Regions from separate parts of the Homo sapiens genome. Here region 2 is linked to region 1. The links are contacts of gene promoters, found by promoter capture Hi-C in blood cells and fetal thymus (Javierre and others, 2016). All regions are on one chromosome and are shown on one strand. Each heading gives the region's core, a stretch centred on a gene start or on the middle of the fragment in contact. The rest is flanking DNA. Distances are from core to core; before and after follow the strand shown.

Region 1 (6,486 bases), core at 3,962-6,461:
GTTCAAGCGATTCTCCTGACTCAGTCTCCTGAGTAGCTGGGACTACAGGCACGTGCCACCACACCTGGCTAATTTTTGTATTTTTAGTAGAGACGGGGTTTCACCACGTTGGTTAGGCTGGTCTTGAACTCCTGACCTCGTGATCTGCTTGCCTCGGCCTCCCAAAGTGCTGGGATTAAATCTCAGCTTTATTGGGCCGGGCACGATGGCTCACGCCTGTAATCCCAGCACTTTGGGAAGCTGTGGCAGGTGGATCACCTGAGGTCAGGAGTTCAAGACCAGCCTGGCCAACATGGTGAAACCCCGTCTCTACTAAAAATACAAAAATTAGCTGGGCGTGATGGTGCACACCTGTAATCCCAGCTACTTGGGAAGCTGAGGCAGGAGACTCACTTGAACCTGGAAGGCAAAGGTTGCAGTGAGCCAAGATTGTGCCACTGCACTCCAACCTGGAAGGCAGAGTAAAACTCTGTCTCAAAACAAACAAACAAAAAAAACAAACTCAGCTTTACCGAAGTATAACTTATCTGCAGTGAAATTCGCCCATCTCATGTTTATAGTATAATGATTTGGGGGCAATTGTATATGGTTTCATGATCGTGTCAACAATCAAGACACAGAACATTTCTATCAATCACCCCCAAAACTTTCCTCTTGCCTCTTTGGAGTCAATCCCCCACCCACCTCTAGGCTGACCTCTGGCCCCAGTCAACCATAAATCTGCTTTCTATCATTATTGTTTTGCCTTTTCCAAAATGTAATATAAATGGCATCATGCAGTATATAATATTTTGTGTACAGTTTATTTCATTTAGCATGATATTTTTGAGATTCATTCAAGTTGTAGCATATATCAATAGTTCTTCCTTTTTATTGCTGAGTAATATTCCATTGGGTGCATATATCACCATTGGCTTAGCTATGGGTTTAATCAGTGGGGATTTGAGATGCTTACATTCTTTTACTATTTTTTATTATTATTATTATTATTTTGAGAGGAGTCTCACTCTGTCGCCAGGCTGGAGTGCAGTGGCACGATCTCGGCTCAGTGCAACCTCCGCCTCCCGGGTTCAAGCGATTCTCCTGCCTCAGCTTCCTGAGTAGCTGGGATTACAGGTGCACGCCACCAAGGCTGGCTATTTTTTGTATTTTTAGTAGAGACGGGGTTTCACCATGTTGGCCAGGATGGTCTCGATCTCTTGACCTTGTGATCCACCCACCTCGGCCTCCCAAAGTGCTGGGATTACAGGCGTGAACCACCGCGCCCAGCTTTTGACTATTATTTTTGAAAGGCTGCTGTGAATATTTGAATACACGTCTTTTTGTGAACGTATGTTTCCATATATCTTGGATAAATACCTAGGAATAGTATTGCTCGGCCATATGTACATTTACCTTTGTAATTCACTGCCAAACCATTTTCCAAAGGGGCTGCACTATCCTGCTGAGGCTGCTTTTTAAATACAGACTGGGGTTGGGGAGGAGGAGGTAGGCAGAGCTGCTTTGCAGTTCTCCTAGATTCAGAAGTTAGACCTGGCATTCATGTGCTTCACAACAAGCTTATGAAGGAGTTAATGAATAAAACCCATTTCACAGATGAGGAAGTAGAGGTTTGGAGAGGTGTACTTGCCCGAAGTCACACACCTAACAAATGGAAGAGCTAGGATTTAAACCCTGGAACCTTTGTGTCAGTGCACAGGGGCTTACCCCCTATCCTCTCCCATCTCTCTCCCCAGTGATCACCGTGGCAACTTGGGAATTCTGCTGCCTTGACACTCTATACATCACATTTACATCTATCCTCAAGGGGACACAACGACCCTGGGAGGTGGCATTCAACCCCTTTTTTTCAGAGGAAGCAGTTAATGATCAGAGAGGTGAAGTGACTTTCCCAAGGCCAACAGCTTGCCTATAGAATTTCTGGGACCTGAATCAGGTTTCCTAGTTCCAAGTGCTTTCTGCTAGAGCATGGTAACCCACAGCTACATTTAAAATTTTTCATTCCTAATTTTCTTTTTCTTCAGCCTTCTCTTTCCTCAGTAAGAATGCCCCTCCCTTTCCTCCACCTTCCCCTGCCTCAGGCCCAATACATTGAACCTGGTAGGATTAAGTTGAGGCAGGAGTGGGGACTGGGGAGATCAGAGCATAGAGGCCAAGGGAGAAGTAGCAGGAAACAGGCCATTTCCTCGCTCGGGCCTGCTTCTTATCTAGGAGGTGAGAGGCCAGAGGTGGAGGTAAGGGATGAAGCCAACCAAATCCAGAGTGCAGGCTCCTCCTGGTGCTGCCTAGCCTGCCTCCCCCAACTGCAGAGAACAGGATGAAGCCTCTGAAGGTAGGAGGTGCCTCCAGCCCTCCAGCCTGTGCCTTAGCAAAAGCGGGAGGACTCTGGGGGAGAGGGGCGGAAACAGGTGTAGGCTGTGCTACTCAGAAGGGTTGTGGAAGAAGCAGCCTGAGGTCGCATCTATTGCCCCCTCCTCTCTATTGTCCTGGAGCCCTGGAGAGGGAGGCCAGCCATCTTCTCACAGGCCTCCTGCATGATGGGGGGGTGTATGTGTGCAAAATGCAGGGAAGCCTGAAGATTCCTACACACACACACACACACACACACACACACACACACACACTGAAATGTGAGTGCAGCCCCAGCCTGGAAGAGGGCAGGCTCAGTCAAGAATACAGCGATGTCACCAAGGGCAAGGCGGTAACCCCTCCATAGTGTACAACCTTGTTTGTTTGTTTGTTTTGAGATGGAATCTCACTCTGTCACCCAGGCTGAAGTGTAGTGGTGCAATCTCAGCTCACTGCAACCTTCACCACCCGGGTTCAAGTAATTCTCCTGCCTCAGCCTCCCGATTAGCTGGGATTACAGGCGCCCACCACCACGCCTGGCTAATTTTTTTGTATTTTTAGTAGAGACGGGGTTTCACCATGTTGGCCAGGTTGGTTTCGAACTCCTGACCTCAAGTGATCCGCCCGCCTCGGCCTCCCAAGGTGCTGGGATCACAGGCCTGAGCCACCGCGCCCAGCCCATAGTGTACAACCTTTACAGTTTTCAAAGTGCTTCCTCATCTGTTGCCTCATTCGATCTCTGCACCTACACCGTGAGACAGGCACGGCAGGGGTTACTCTCTCCATTTCACAGGCCAAAGGCTAATCTTCTCTACTGGCCCTTTCTGGTTGAATTGCATCTTTCTAGAGGTGGGGCTGGGCTGGGGCTGGACCCTGGAAAAATCTTCAGGAATTACCTCCTTAGGATGAGACCATCCCTGCTCTGCACCTTCCCCACCTCCTAACCCCCAGCTCCTCCCAGCTCCATCGAAAAGCTTTGGCCTCATCTTGGGACACTTAACCAGGCCTATTATATGCAAGGTATCCCAGGCAGCTGCTGCCCTCCCTCCACCCATCCCCATTTTCCTCTATCCCTCTGCCCTAAGATTCACAGATACCAGGAATCCAGAGTTATTCAGCAGCCCACCAGGGAGCCTCTCTAGCATGCAAATTTACTGAGCGTGCTTTGAAATTCAGCACAAAAGTGAATGAGATTCAAAGGAGTTCATAGTCTGGGGAGGGGAGTTGGCAGAGCAGACGTGTAAGCAAATGATGACATCAGTACAACAAGAAGGGCTGGGTGGGGGAGACTTCTAATTGTGCGGGGGCCCAGGAGCAGCTGCTATTCTGCTGTCTTTCCAGGAGTTTGGCAAATCCAGGAGAGAGGACCAAGTGGAAAGGGCTGGAGGAAAGAAAAAACCCAGTGCATCAAGTTCCCTGGAACTAGGCCAGAGCTTGGGGTGAAGAGCAAAAAGAGGCACACTGGGAGAAGTGGCTAAAGAGTGGGTTGGGTTGGATTCTGGATGGCTTTGTTACTCTTCTAAGAAGTCTAGACTCTTCAATAAAGCATATATATATGCATATATAAATGATATATGAATATATGTGTATATGTGTGTGACTATGTAGAAACACACGTACACATATACACTGGTATCAGGTAAAATGCTGTTTTTAGATGCTGGAGAACTAACACATACAAGAGAAAAAAAACAGGTCATGATAAAGTCATCCTATTTACTCGAACTGCTCGCGTATAAGTATTATGCAGTACAAAGAATATTATGCTCATTTTTCTATGTGCCAGGTTGTCTTTTCTTTTTTTAATTTTTTTGACACGCAGTCTCGCTTTGTCACACAGGCTGGAGTGCAGTGGTGCCATCTCAGCTCACTGCAACCTCTCCCTCCCGGGTTCAAGCGATTCTCTTGCCTCAGCTTCCCGAGCAGCTGGTATTACAGACACCTGCCACCACGCCTGGATAATTTTTGTATTTTTAGTAGAGACGAGGTTTCACCATGTCGTCCAGGCTGGTCTCGAACTCCTGACCTCAGGTGATCCGCCTGCGTTGGCCTCCCAAAGTGCTAGGATTACAGGCGTGAGCCACCGCGCCCGGCCCAGATTGTTTGTTTTATTTGATTACACAATGAATTCTCTTCTTGAAGTTTGCCTTTCTTCTCTTTTTCCTGTCCCTTTCTTTTTACTGTATCAATAGTTGTCTGACCCAAACCTCAACAAGTAGAAGGAATTTTGGACTGAAATGTTTCCGTTCACTAAGTCTCAATTGCGTTCTTGGAAAGGTGCTGGCACAGCTGAGGGACACCCCAGCTGTTAGTTGAGTTTGTGAATTGCAGATCCTGCCCCAGAGTCAGTGAAATTTCTTTTTCCCTTATACTATCTCAACTTTACGCAGCCAACCCTGTGTACCCAATAATAGCTCAATTTAGTGGCATCCGCTAAAGTCTTGTATAGAGAAGTTTTCCCTCTGGATTTCCCCTTTACTGAAGAAAAATGGGGAGACCCAGACAAGGGTCCCGGGACTACGCTTCCCAGCCGCCTCCGCCCGGCGCCCAGTCCAACTTCCCTTACAGGGATGGCCCCTGGCATCTTGGCCCCGCCCATCCCCAGCACCATATTGCGAACTACAATTCCCAGCTGCCTCCATGCGTCGGACCCTTCAAAATGGGCTTCCCAGCAGCCTCTCGGGCGAAGAGCCCCGCCCTTCGGAGCTGCTCCCCAGGTCGACCCGGCGCACTCTTCCTGCCCCCTGCCCCGTCACGTGATGCAGTCCCGCCAACCGGCACGGGGAGGCGGGCAGCGGGCGGTGGCCGGGGGCGGGCAGGCCGTGGGGGGCGGACCCCAGAGGGGGCGGAGCAGGGCCCGGCAGCCGAGCAGCCTGGCAACGGCGGTGGCGCCCGGAGCCCGAGGTGGGTGCGCGCTCACGGCTGGCCTGGCTCGGAGCCGGGCACTGCGGGGACCCGTGGTGAGGGGATCGGGAGGAGGAAGTTGGGACTCCTTGGGCCAGCGGGTCGCGCGGGGCCTTGCCGCACCGTCAGGGTTGGGTGGGGGTTTCGTCCAAGCGCCGTCGCTGTCCCCGCGGGGCAGGGCTGAGGCCAGGGAGCAGCAGGCAGGTACCTCCGGCTTCCTCCCGTTCTCCCCGCCCAAGGTGGCCGGCCGGCGGCGGGCGAAGGTCGGGACGGGGGTAGGGGTTGGCTGGCCGTGGAGCTGGGGGCGGACGTCTCAGCCACTGCCTGGACTTTGCTTCCCCGTCCCGGGGCGGTGAGTGGGCCGGGCGTCCGCCCTGCCTCCCCGGCGACGCTCCGCGGCTGGTCCTCGCCTTGGCCCTCCGCACGGAGCGGGCGTCCGTCGCATCCCCGGTGGGCCCTGCGGAGCGGCCGCAGCCCGGCACTGGCCGCGAAGCCTCGATGGCCGCTCTCGGCCAGTGTTTCTGTGTCATACACGAGAGGTTTATCTGCTTTTGCAACAGTTGAGGGAAGATCTTAGAGGGAACGGTTAGTTCCCTGATACGCAGTCGGAAGTATGTACAGGCACGAGCAAGCGCCCGTGGCCGGGTTGCCTCCCTTAACTGTCTTTTGCTGCGCTCAGGAAGTGAAAACTAATTTTAGTATTTGCCTAAGCAAGTAAGAAGTGAATCTGCTGCAAAAATTATATTAGAGCTTTATAGACGCACGCATCGTTTGAGGCGAAGTGGGTTGCGACTGGTTTTGAAACAGATACACCAGATCTTCACAAGAATAAAATTATAGCATTTTAGAATTGACTGGCATCCTGAAGTTTACATTGTTCATTTGTTTCCTGGATGGGGGAACTGAGGCCCAGAGAGGGTAACTAATATGTCCCGGGCTTCAGGGCAACTTAATGGCAAAGCTAATATCACAAGCCAGCTCTTTGGGGGTATCTTGGTGTCTGTCTAGTCTGGATTCTTTTTACCACAGCTCAGTATTATTCCTTGTGAAATAAGCACCTTAGAGTCTTGAGACTGAGCCAGCAATTTTGCTAGACTGCAAACCATTTTGAATTTCCTTCAAAATCGGTTTACCAACCAAATAAGACAATCAGGCCTGTTACTTTGCAGACACGTTTGCCTTCATCCAACATATATATTGGGCACGATCATGTATTCACCAGATTTGATTCTG
Region 2 (2,700 bases), core at 1-2,500, 1.1 Mb before region 1:
CCTGGCGATGGCAGGATGTAGCCACCTTCCCTGTGCAAATCCCTCCCTCAACAAACAACACAGCTGTCACAGCTGTGCTGGATCAGCCCTCAACCAGCTCTTCACCTTGGGGTATCTGAAGGGGATGTGTGGCTTATGATACCCAACGGCCAGGAAGAAAGGACTGGCTGACGTTTTCATCTTTTCCAACAACTGTATGGCTTGCTCAGTGCTCTGTTTGTCAGGCAAGGTGCCCTCGGGAACATCCAGCACATCCACAGGGCAAAGCAGGTTGGCATGGAGTTCTCCATCTGGCCCTCGACATGTCTTTCAAAACAAAATAATATAACATCAGCTTTTTAAGTGCAAGAAATGAAGCCATGAAGGCTACACACACAGATTTAATGTTCACATAATCAGCCCTTCACGTGTTAGTCACTCAGACTGAACAGAGACATCAGAAGTAGAACTAAGACAGAAAAGGTGTTTCTTGTTTTCCAGGCAGGGGCCAGAAATCCACTAGCACTTGGTTTCTTGCTACTAATACTCTTTCTCCAGATCATAACTAATTAAAAGAAACCCCGATAGACTAATTATAAAAAAAAATCCATCTCTAATTCAACAATTAAAAAATGCCAATTAAAAATGGGCAAAGGATTTGGATAGACATTTCTCCAAAGATGATATACAAATGGCCAATTGAACATGGAAATGTGGCTAACATCATTAGTCATTAGGGAAATGCAAATCAAAACCACTTCACACCCAAAAGGATGGTTATAATTTTTTAAGATGGAAAATAACAAGTGTTGACGAGGATGCAGAAAAATTAGAACCCTCTCACATTGCTGGTGGGAATGTAAAATAGTGCAGCCACTTTGAAAGCCAGTCTGGCAATTCCTCAAACAGTTAAACATAGTTATTATACCCAAAAAAATTAAAAACATATGCCCATAAAAACACTTGTACAAAAATGTCGAGGGCAGCATTATTCCTAATAGTCAAAAGTAGAAACAACCCAAATATCCATCAAGTGATGAACTGATAAACAAAATGTGGTACAATAGACAATTATGCAGCCATAAAAAGGAATGAAAGGCTGGGTGCGGTGGCTCACACCTCTAATCCCAGCACTCTGGGAGATGAGTGGATTGCCTGAGGTAAGGAGTTCGAGACCAGCCTGACCAACATGGTGAAACCCCGTCTCTACTAAAAATACAAACATTAGCTGGGTGTGGTGGTGGGCACCTGTAATCCCAGCTACTCGGAAGGCTGAGGCAGGAGAATCATCGCTTGAACCTGGGAGGTGGAGGCTACAGTGAGCTGAGATTGCGCCATTGCACTCCAGCCTGGGTGACAAGAGTGAAACTCCATCTCAAAAAAAAAAAAAAAAAGGAATGAAGTACCAATTTATACTGTTATGTGGCTGAACCTCAAAAACATTATTCTAAGTGAAAGAAGCCAGAAACAAATGGCTACATAGTGTATGACTCTATTTATACCAAATGGACAAAATAGGCAAATCCATGGAGACCAAAAATAGTTCAGTTGTTGTCCCACGCTGGGTGCTGAGACAAAATGAGGAACGACTGGTAATGGGTACAGGGTTTCTTTTGAGAGCGATAAAAATGATCTAAGATCGATTTGGGTGATGGCTGCATAGCTCCGTGAGTATGCTAAAAACCATTAAATTATATACTTCAAAAGGGAGAGTTTTATGGTATATGAACTCTATTTTAATTAAAAATTTAAAAAGAAAAAAAAAACCCATTTCAAATTTCAAAGACAGGCTAAGGCTTGTAAGTGACAGGGTCCCAATCAACTTGATAAGGTGACAGTCCATGGAATTTCCAGAACTTCAGCTACACTAGGCACAGAATGAAACCTCCTGCTTTGCTTCCTAAAGTAGACATGCTGGCCGTGAGACCAAAGTTAGTTCTGACCATGATTTGTATACCACAAAGACCGAGGGGCTGTGTCAGCTGCTGTTCCATCTCAAAGAGTGTTGCCTTTTCACAGCCCTGCCTTGCTCACCCCACCCTTGGGCAGGACAGCCCAGCACCCGCCTCAGACCACTTGTTCATCATCTATATATACACGATTTGCAGCACTCGAGGGAGATTTAGTATTGTCAGACCCACCACTTTGAGAAGAAATGGGTAGGGGGCAGTTAGGGCAGGGACCTGGCATTCGTAAGTGAGGCCACTAAAAAGAAGCAAGATGGCTTCAGGGAATTAAGATGGGATCTTCCCTATTCAAGCCACAAGCCAAAGGCCAGAGCTCACAGTTTTCACTGTATTCTGAAATGGAAAGCTGTCAAGAACTTAGAACAATACCTTCCACCTCACTTCCAAATCCTCACCCTTCCCAACACGATGTTTACTAAAACCTCAGAGATACATTTCATGTCTCAGTTCCCTAGCTGGTTTTCTGAGTTTCTTAAATGTGGGTTTTAGTTTCATTTATACATTTGGGATTCCTCTAAACCAAGATTTTCTTTGTAGGTTACTTTTTTTCATAATGCTCTAAAAATTCAAAACCCCTATCAGAGGTCTCAGCTGCTGAACATACACATTAGGTCAGAGACAGATACACGGCATGCCTTTCTCCCATTCTGGGCTGAGGCTCCTGGAGCTCAGCCTCTTTTCTCCCTCCCATGTCTCAGCATCTCCTACAACTCTCAGTCTCATCCAGCGTGAGCACTGGGGAGCTATTCAATGA

What was found. The method cuts DNA at HindIII sites, captures the fragments that hold promoters and counts their contacts. A CHiCAGO score of 5 or more calls a contact.
Region 2: a contact is called between a fragment that was not itself captured here and the fragment with the promoter of MTM1 in region 1, in 4 of 17 cell types (non-activated CD4 T cells, total B cells, neutrophils and 1 more). The highest score is 8.6, in non-activated CD4 T cells.

The regions. Positions count from the first base shown.
Region 1 is chrX:150,563,410-150,569,895 of GRCh38, forward strand. It overlaps MTM1 (myotubularin 1), which reads left to right and starts at 5,212. Exons shown (of 15, transcript NM_000252.3): 1 at 5,212-5,253. RefSeq lists enhancers at 1,885-2,807, 2,808-3,729 and a silencer at 5,014-5,693. The HindIII fragment of the contact is 5,391 bases long and covers 3,322-6,486 here.
Region 2 is chrX:149,498,002-149,500,701 of GRCh38, forward strand. It overlaps IDS (iduronate 2-sulfatase), which reads right to left. Exons shown (of 9, transcript NM_000202.8): 5 at 106-306. Among named protein-coding and RNA genes, the nearest start is that of IDS, 6.0 kb to the right of the region's middle. The HindIII fragment of the contact is 4,525 bases long and covers 1-2,700 here.